3 separate regions of the Homo sapiens genome follow, and all the other regions are linked to region 1. Evidence: promoter capture Hi-C in 16 types of primary human blood cells and fetal thymus (Javierre and others, 2016). All regions are on one chromosome and are shown on one strand. Each heading gives the region's core, a stretch centred on a gene start or on the middle of the fragment in contact. The rest is flanking DNA. Distances are from core to core; before and after follow the strand shown. Region 1 holds the start of ADCY7 (adenylate cyclase 7). Region 2 holds the start of CYLD-AS2 (CYLD antisense RNA 2). Region 3 has its middle 13 kb from the start of LINC02168.

Evidence for each region. Contacts are between HindIII fragments. The CHiCAGO score rates a contact against its expected background, and 5 or more counts as called.
Region 2: a contact is called between a fragment that was not itself captured here and the fragment with the promoter of ADCY7 in region 1, in 1 of 17 cell types (total CD4 T cells). The highest score is 5.1, in total CD4 T cells.
Region 3: a fragment that was not itself captured here is called in contact with the fragment with the promoter of ADCY7 in region 1 in 6 of 17 cell types (naive CD4 T cells, naive CD8 T cells, total CD4 T cells and 3 more); the score reaches 8.3 in naive CD4 T cells.

What each region holds. Positions count from the first base shown.
Region 1 is chr16:50,265,116-50,267,815 of GRCh38, reverse strand. ADCY7 (adenylate cyclase 7) reads right to left here and starts at 1,265. Exons shown (of 26, transcript NM_001114.5): 1 at 1,136-1,265. RefSeq lists enhancers at 1,493-1,582, 1,528-2,121. The HindIII fragment of the contact is 14,845 bases long and covers 1-1,469 here.
Region 2 is chr16:50,800,773-50,803,472 of GRCh38, reverse strand. It overlaps CYLD (CYLD lysine 63 deubiquitinase), which reads right to left. Exons shown (of 19, transcript NM_001378743.1): 19 at 1,538-2,700. It overlaps CYLD-AS2 (CYLD antisense RNA 2), which reads left to right and starts at 128. Exons shown (of 3, transcript NR_187251.1): 1 at 128-436; 2 at 1,197-1,350. The HindIII fragment of the contact is 3,568 bases long and covers 1-2,700 here.
Region 3 is chr16:50,818,813-50,821,512 of GRCh38, reverse strand. No RefSeq gene overlaps it. Among named protein-coding and RNA genes, the nearest start is that of LINC02168, 13 kb to the right of the region's middle. The HindIII fragment of the contact is 9,826 bases long and covers 1-2,700 here.

The sequences.
Region 1 (2,700 bases), core at 16-2,515:
TGGCTGGCTTGTCACTTTTATGTCTCCTTTGGCCTCGTCTAAGACAATAATACAGTCATGATGTCACAATGGCAATGTCCTATTTACAGATTTTTTTTTCCCCAAGACAAATACTTAGATTTTAAACATGTCCTTCCACACACAGGCTAGAACCCCCTGTGATTCCCTGGGCAGCCCGGTCCTCACTCCGAGAAACACTGGTGTTGAGTCCACCCCTCACAGCCTCCATCTGCAAGATGGTGATGCTAGTGAAGGCCCACGGTCACATAGCCCTTCCAGACACATCCAGCCCACACTGGCTGCCCGTCCAGGCCTTGGACCCAGGGCCCCTGTCGTAGGTGGCTCGGCCTGGCCCCTACCTCCAGGCCCTTGGCTTCCCCCTCCCGGCCCTCCCTTCTCCTCTCCAGCAATGGCTGTCCAGGGAGGAAGCCCCCAGCCACAGATGTCCCTGCCCTTGACCCTGATGTGATGACACAGAGAAGAGGCAACTGCCTCACCCTCTGTACATACATGTTTAGATGAATGCATAGAAAGCTCCAGAAAGACCCGCTCCAGAAAGACCCACTCCAGATGGCCCATGCGGTCCCTGGGGGATAGAGGAGAGGCATTGCAGGGAAAGGGAAACCAGTCTGCTTTTTGGAGGCATCTTGGTTTCCTGACCCTCAGGCATGCACTCCTTTCAGAGGTTTTGTTTGTTTTTTGTTTTATAATTTCATAAAATTAGTTGAATTGGCCTTCCCTTGCCAATGTTTCCTTTCATTGAGAAAAGTCATGTGTGCTTGTAAATGTAAAATTACACCCTCGAGAAGGAGTGTGGACATTTGAGAGTCTGTGGTTCCTAGAATTCCAGATGGAACGGGCCACATGTACAACATTGTGGTCACAACCGCACTTTCTTGTCAGGCTGGGAAAAGCCAGTGACAAGTCGCCTCTGGTCCCCTGTTGAAGGGCCGCCTCTCCCAGCCATCTGCCCAGTAGGCTCACGGAGCCTCCTACTCCCCCAGCCCAGACCCTGCCCAGTGCACTCCCAGGCCAGGCTGCCGGGTGAGCTGCTTCCCACCCACTGTCCAGCCCCGTCCCCTGGGGCTCAAGCCACTAGGACTGGTGACACTCCATCCCCACACCCCACTTTTACCTGGCTCTCCTCCCCGGCCCCAGCAGCCGGCCAGGGTCTGCAGGGAGGTGGCCCGGCCCCCGCCTGCCCTTCCTCAGACGCGCCCAGGCTCACCCATCCGAAGGCTCCTTCCACGCTACCTAATGAGAGTGAGTCACATCTGGGACCCACCACTTCCTGCTCCGGCAGCGGCAGCAGCGGCGGCGGCGGCAGCAAGGCTAAGGCACAGCCCACAGCCCAGCCTCTCGGGGTGTGCAGGGCCCCCTCCCCCAGCCACAGTGCTGCTCTCCGCAGCCTGGGAGCTGCCAGGCCTGGGAGCTGTCGGGCTCCAATGACTTCATGGAAATTTGAAGCTTGAAGCTGGAACAATTTTGAAAAAATAATAATAAAACAAGCACCAAAAACCTCCATTAGAAGCCCCAAGACAACTGTTCAAAGTGGGGAGCAAATGCATCCTTAGTGAGCAATTAGCAATTAGCGGCCTGGCCTGAGCCTCCTGTGGGCTCTGACGCTCACAGACAGGCCCCCCGCGCCTTCCTGGGACTCAATTTCCCTATCTATGTAGTAAGGTGGCCCCGTCCACCTCTGAGAGGGGCCCAGGAGAGGTCAAAGATCTTCCAGCCCAGCCCACTGCCTCTCCATCTCACCTACGCTCCCATGCTGGGAGCAGGGCAGGGGCAGGCCCATCCTTGGGGCTCCTATTCCAAAATCAGAGTCCCTGGAGAGCCCCCAACATCCCTGGGCACCATGAGGCTGGGAATCAAACCCCAGCACCCCTTCTGCTATGCCAGGCCTCAGTTTCCCCACTGGGATCATGGGGCGCTCAGTGGCGAGGGAGCAGATCAGGAGAGGCTAAGAGGAGAGAGTGGAGACTCCCAAAACAGAGGGGGAGGCCTCCAGCCCGCTGGCCACAGCAGCACCTGGTCCTCAGGGAGCCCTTCTGAGCATGTGACTGGCATCCTGGGATTACGAGCTCCTCAAAGCAATGGTGTACCTCCTCCACCTCCCACATCCAGGGTCAGACACCCCTCTTCTGGTCTTCTAACCCCTGCACCTTCCTCCATCACAGCACCTCTGTGCTGTGACCACTGGTTGCTGGTCTGTCTTTCCTAGGTTATATCCTTGAGGAGGGCAGAGATGGGAGGGCAGCTGTAATATCAACAGCTGTGTCCCCAGCGTCCAGCCCCAGCTGGTCACAGAGTAGACATCCCACACATACTGATCAGGAGGAACTGAACATGTTAGGTGCTGTCTCTGTGCCAGGCCCCATGCAGGGAACTAGCAGGTGATCTAAGGTCTGCCATCTGGTGGAGACAGGCATAGGACTCACACAGGGTTCCAGGCTGCTCCAGAGGCCACAGGAGGGAGTGGGAGACCTCAGGGGATCCTCCCCATCAGGGTCGCCCTCCTATCAGCAAATGTCTCCCTAGCAAATGTCCCAGAGCAGAGAAGGAACAGACATCATCATCATCAAAAGAGGGGAAAGACAAGCCACTGACTAGGAGAAAGTCACATCCTATATGACTGACAAAAGACTCCTCCCTAGCATATATAAAGATCTCCCAGGCTTGGCATGGTGGCTCATG
Region 2 (2,700 bases), core at 104-2,603, 540 kb before region 1:
CACAGTCACAAGGAGTGGGGACTATGAAAAAGTGTGCCAACCCTTGAATCTGACAAGGAAGATCAGTGATGTCATAACAGCATTGTTTGGATATCAGCATGCATATCCACCCATGGGGTTCTGAAACAGAAATGCATAAGGAGCTTTGACAAGGACCCACTGTCTGGCCCCATCTTCAGAGATTCCAATAGGTCTGGGGTGTGCACAGGCACTGGCGTCTTTAAAATCTCCCTGTGTGAATTCAACATGCAACCAGGATTGAATGGAGAACTGCTGCTCGAAGTTTGATAATGAGGTGATAATGAGGAAGAACATGCCTCAGCAAGTCAGAAAAAGGGGCTTAGGGGAGGGCCAGTGGCTCCTCCTTCGGCCAGGCCAGCTTTCTTCTGACAAGGACTTGTTTTCACAACTGTCCAGATCCGCAGATGGGCACAAGGTATGTACTGTCGCCGTCACGGTAACAGACCCAAACAGAGTCACAAGGAGTGGCGACTATGAAAAAGTGTGCCAACCCTTGAATCTGACAAGGAAGATCAGTGATGTCAGAACAGCATTGTTTGGATATAAGCACGCATATCCACCCATGGGGTTCTGAAACAGAAATGTTCTTCAATGTATTGTCAATACCAGTATTACCAACTCAGACCATTCTAGCTTTCCTATCATGGCACATTAAGTGACTTAAACTCCAAATAATTTCCAAGGAAGGTTGATCTGTTACCTAAAAGAAGACTAAAGTAGGAATTTCAATACACAGTACATCGTGCGACCATTCCTCTGGTTATCACAAAAAAGTAAAATATTTAACTGCCTCTGTGGAAGCTGTGGTAGAATGGGACACACTACTGGCCAGGTGTGGTGGCTCACGCCTATAATCCCAGCACTTTGGGAGGCCCAGGCAGGCAGATCACTTGAGGTCAGGAGTTTGAGACCAGCCTGGTCAACATGGTGAAACCCTGTCTCTACTAAAAACACAAAAAAATTAGCCAGGCATGGTGGTGCACGCCTGTAATTCCAGCTACTTGGGAGGCTGAGGCAGGAGAATCGCTGGAACCTGAAAGACAGAGATTGCAGCGAGCCGACATCACACCACTGCACTCCAACTGGGGCGACAGAGCGAGACTCCATCTCAAAAAAAAGAAAAAAGAATGGGACACACTACTCCTTAGGCAACAGTGTTGGGTTCATGTTTATAGATGATGGAATGAAGCAGCGGGGGACAACTTCTGGCTGGAGTGGCTTGGAGGCTGGAGCAGCTGAGCTTTAACAAGCATCAGAGGTCAGAATTACTTGGCTAGATCAAGAAGCCACACAGCATCATAATGCCGCTGGCACATCTCCCAGAACAGGGTAAGTGTGTGAGGTTTTCTAAAGCAATTGTAATGGTGGTAGAGGCTTGATCAAGACACAGAGGTGTGCCCAGGTATAGCATTTCCTCAAAGAAATCTTACCACAGCAAAAACTTAAAGTGTTGTAGAGACCCAATTCCAGCCTTCTCATAACCCAAAACCCTTCCCTCAAAGAAATCCAGGAAAAGGAACCATAAAAATGTAATTTTAATGATACAGAAATAGTATATGTACATTTCTTTCCACAGCAGCACTTCATTCATCTCTAAAAAATTTAACAAAATTAAGGCTAAATCAGAGCGAGCTGATAGGAAGGGGTATTCTATGTGGTGGTCTTCTTAAAGAATGTTCTCATAAATATAGGATGTTCTGCAGACAAGAAATAAAAATAAAACATGCTGAACAAGATACCAAAAATGGGAAATGCAGTAGAAAATGAGCCCCTTTCTACCAATCTACTAAGAATCCCAACTCCCCTGGGAAGTTTCAGATGGGATGTGAGTTCTTTTAATGAATGTTTATGATCTGATGCTAAGACTTTCTAAAATTAAAATTCCACAGTACTAGGCCATTTTATAAACTAAAACCAAGGGCAGTTGAGTCTCCAATATAATCCCTCTAGAATTTTTTAAGTTAAAGTGGACAATATTTGAAAGTACTAATTTTATCTGAAGCTGTGGTGCTTGAAAGGACAATCCCTCCATTTGTGGCCCTTCTCCCTAACCCATGTTATAAAAATAAATGAAGACTTTAAAACACAGTGAAATAAAAATGCCATCACTGCCAAGGCAAAGGGCCAGGAAATCAAATGTGGTTCTTGAGTAACCTGGCTACAGAGACTGCTGGATGCTACAATCAGGGAGGAGGAGGACCTTCCTTTCCCACTTTTTCATTATCCTTGGCCACACTTGCTGGTTAATGCATTACCACTGCATCCTGACTCAAGAGAAAACCTTCAGCTGCTCCAGGATTCAGAATAAGATGAACAGTCTTTCTCCCCTCCTCCCACCTCTTCTCCCCAGAAAGGTCTGAAGGGGAACGGAGAAGGGCAATGCGAACACCCTGCAGGAAGCCTCAGTCTAAAACCCTAGTCTCTGTCAAGAGGGGCAATCCCCTGACACCCGCAGAATCCTGGTCTTCATAAGGCCCCACACACATCTGCTTTAAGGGGTTTACATTCCTTCTTCCTCTGCCTCCTCTTTTGCAGTGAGTTTTCATTTTAACATCGCTTTCTCCTCCCCGACTCCTCACCTGCTTTGGGGAATTCAAATGTTATCTTCATTAATGGAGAATTGCACCAAACCCTAGAGAAAGGAGTATTATTTTAAATTACAGGCCTTATAGCCTACCT
Region 3 (2,700 bases), core at 192-2,691, 550 kb before region 1:
ATGCCCAGCTAATTTTTGTAATTTTAGTAGAGATGGGTTTCACCATGTTGGCCAGGCTGGTCTTGAATTCCTGACCTCAGGTGATCCACCCACCTCAGCCTCCCAAAATCCTGGGATTACAGGTGTGAGCCACCACACCTGCCCTGTGTGTCTTCTTTTCTGTCTCTTATCAGGATACTTGTCATCAGCATTAGGGCCCTAATCCAGGTATAAGATCACCTTGAGGCCCTAGTCTTAATCGCATCTGCAGAAATCCTTATTCCAGATAAGGCCACTTCTGAGGTTCAGAGTGGACATATCTTTGGGGAAGCTGCTGTTGAACCTCACCCAGACTCTACTTTTGGAGAATGGCTTGGAGGGATCAGCTCCTCGCTCCTGGTTTACCTCTTCTCCTTCCGCTAAGTAGCCAATCAGAAAAAATCTCCATGTGATACTAGAACCCAGAGCTCAAGTTATTAGAAAGCCAAAAACTGAATTTCCCATTTCTTAAGAGCAGGGAAGGCCTTGTCTTAGGAAAACACAACTGCTAAATCTCCACTCTCTGAAGGAGAGGGTAATTTATATATATCTGGGGAACATCCACCCTCCCCTCAAACCACTCCAGGAATAGGCCGAAGCCCTCCTTCAAAGGGAAAGCAGGCTGTCATTTTCAGGTTGACATAAATTCTCATTCTCTGCACAGATAATTTTCAGGATGCAATGAATGAGACAAGCAGGGTGAGTACTAAGTACTGAGCATAAGGGGCTGGGGGTGTTGGTCCTCCTTCCCATTTCCACCAGCCCATCCCCCTTACTTTAATGTAAATAATTGGGCTTTTCTGACTCCCGGGCAAAGTTTATGCAAACCCATCCCCAAGTCTCTTTCTTCCAATGAGGGCCCTTCCTACAGGGACAATTTCAGAACCAGTGCATTGGTGCACATGGAAGGAGAGATATTCTTTGCTTGGATAATCAGGGAAGGCTATACAAAGGGAGAAAGCAGACACCTGAATTGGGCTTTAAGAGCATTCCTAAGCAGAGGAAACAGAATTGAACCAAGCAAGACAGAAGCAACACATAACAGAGCAAGGCACAGGTCAGACACGATAAACAGATTTGTAGTAGGTACCAGGAGAGCTGTGTTTAGAAGGATTCTGAGGTCACAGCCAGGCTCAATGCAAAAGTTCGATGATCAGTTAATGATGTCTGCTGTGAGAGCGGTGATATACAAGTCATCCCTGACCTAGGGTGTCAGCAGAGTTCGATGTCATGGAGGAGAAAGCGAAATAACTATAATTCATTTGGACAAATGAAGTTGATTCCTAAAGCCACCTGTTATAGGTTAACTTGTTTCCCCTCCAAAAAAAGACATGTTAGAGTCCTATTCCCCAGTCCCCTAGATGTGACCTTATTCAGACATATGGTCTTTACAGAAGTACTCAAGTTAGAATGAGCATATTAGGATGGGCCCTAATCCAATATGACTGATGTCCTTATAAAAAGGGAACATTTGGACAGAGAGACAGAGGCATTGACAGAAAGCCTCGTAAAGAGATGCAGGGAGAAGACAGCCATCCACAAGCCCAGGAGAGAGGCCTGGACCAGTTCCTTCCCTGATACCCCTCAGAAGGAACCAGCCCGGGAGGCAGGATACGTGGACCCCGATGGCCTTCCCTTTATGCTAAGGATTGCAAACTTAATTATGTCTGGTGTCCAGGCCCTAGCAAGCAGCCAGGTGGGGACTGCGGAGAATGGCAGAGCTCAGGGCTGATCGTGGGGGTCCTCTGCTGCCCCTGGGTGCCCTTGTAGATAACAGTGCCTGATGTGCCAACTCCTCCAGTTTTTTCGAGAAAGGCTGAAGATCCAGATTTTGTGTGAAATCTTCCATTTTCTTAAACACTGATTTAATTAGAGTTCTCCAGAGAAACAGAACCAATAGAATATACATGTGTGTGTTTCCATATACAGAGAGAGAGTGGGAGAGACAGAGAGACAGACAGAGACAGAGGGGTTTATTATGAGCAACTGGCTCCTTCTATTAGGGAGCCCGAGGAGCCCCTCAGTCTGCCATCTGCAAGCCCTTTGGGCTTGGACTGGAACTACACCAGTGGCTGTCCTGGGAGAGCAGGTGGAGTCAATCCCAGTCTGAGGGCAGGAGATGAGAACAAGATGTCCCAGCTCAAGCTGTGAGGCCAGAAAAAAGTGGGGGTGGATTTTTCTCTTTTTAAAATTCTATTCAGGCCCTCAAAGGATCGGATGTCCCCCACCCACAATTGCTTAAGCGAGTTCACGGATGCAAATGCGAATCTTGCCTGGAACACCCTCACAGACACACCCAGAAGCAGTGTTTAATCTGGGGACCCACTAACCCACTCAAGTTGGTACATGAAATTAACCACCATGGCTGGCAACTTTTCACAAGTTTTTGCAAGCCTCATGCAGGCAGGCCTTGAGTTTGCAACCTCCACTCTATGACCCACAAAACAGGGAAAAGGCTATGGTTCGCAATCTCTATTGCTTCTCCTAGAAGGGGTAGAACTTCCTTGGAGACACAGACCACCCCATTCCAGCCCTTGAGGGAATGGTGTACCCTCAGGGGCAGGAATGGGGCCCCTGAGGGTACACTCTGAGCCACTGGAACTAGAGTTCCAGCCCAAGCCCAAAGGGCTTGCAGATGGCAGATTGTGGGACTTCTCAGGCAGCCTGAGCTTGCAGCCCTTA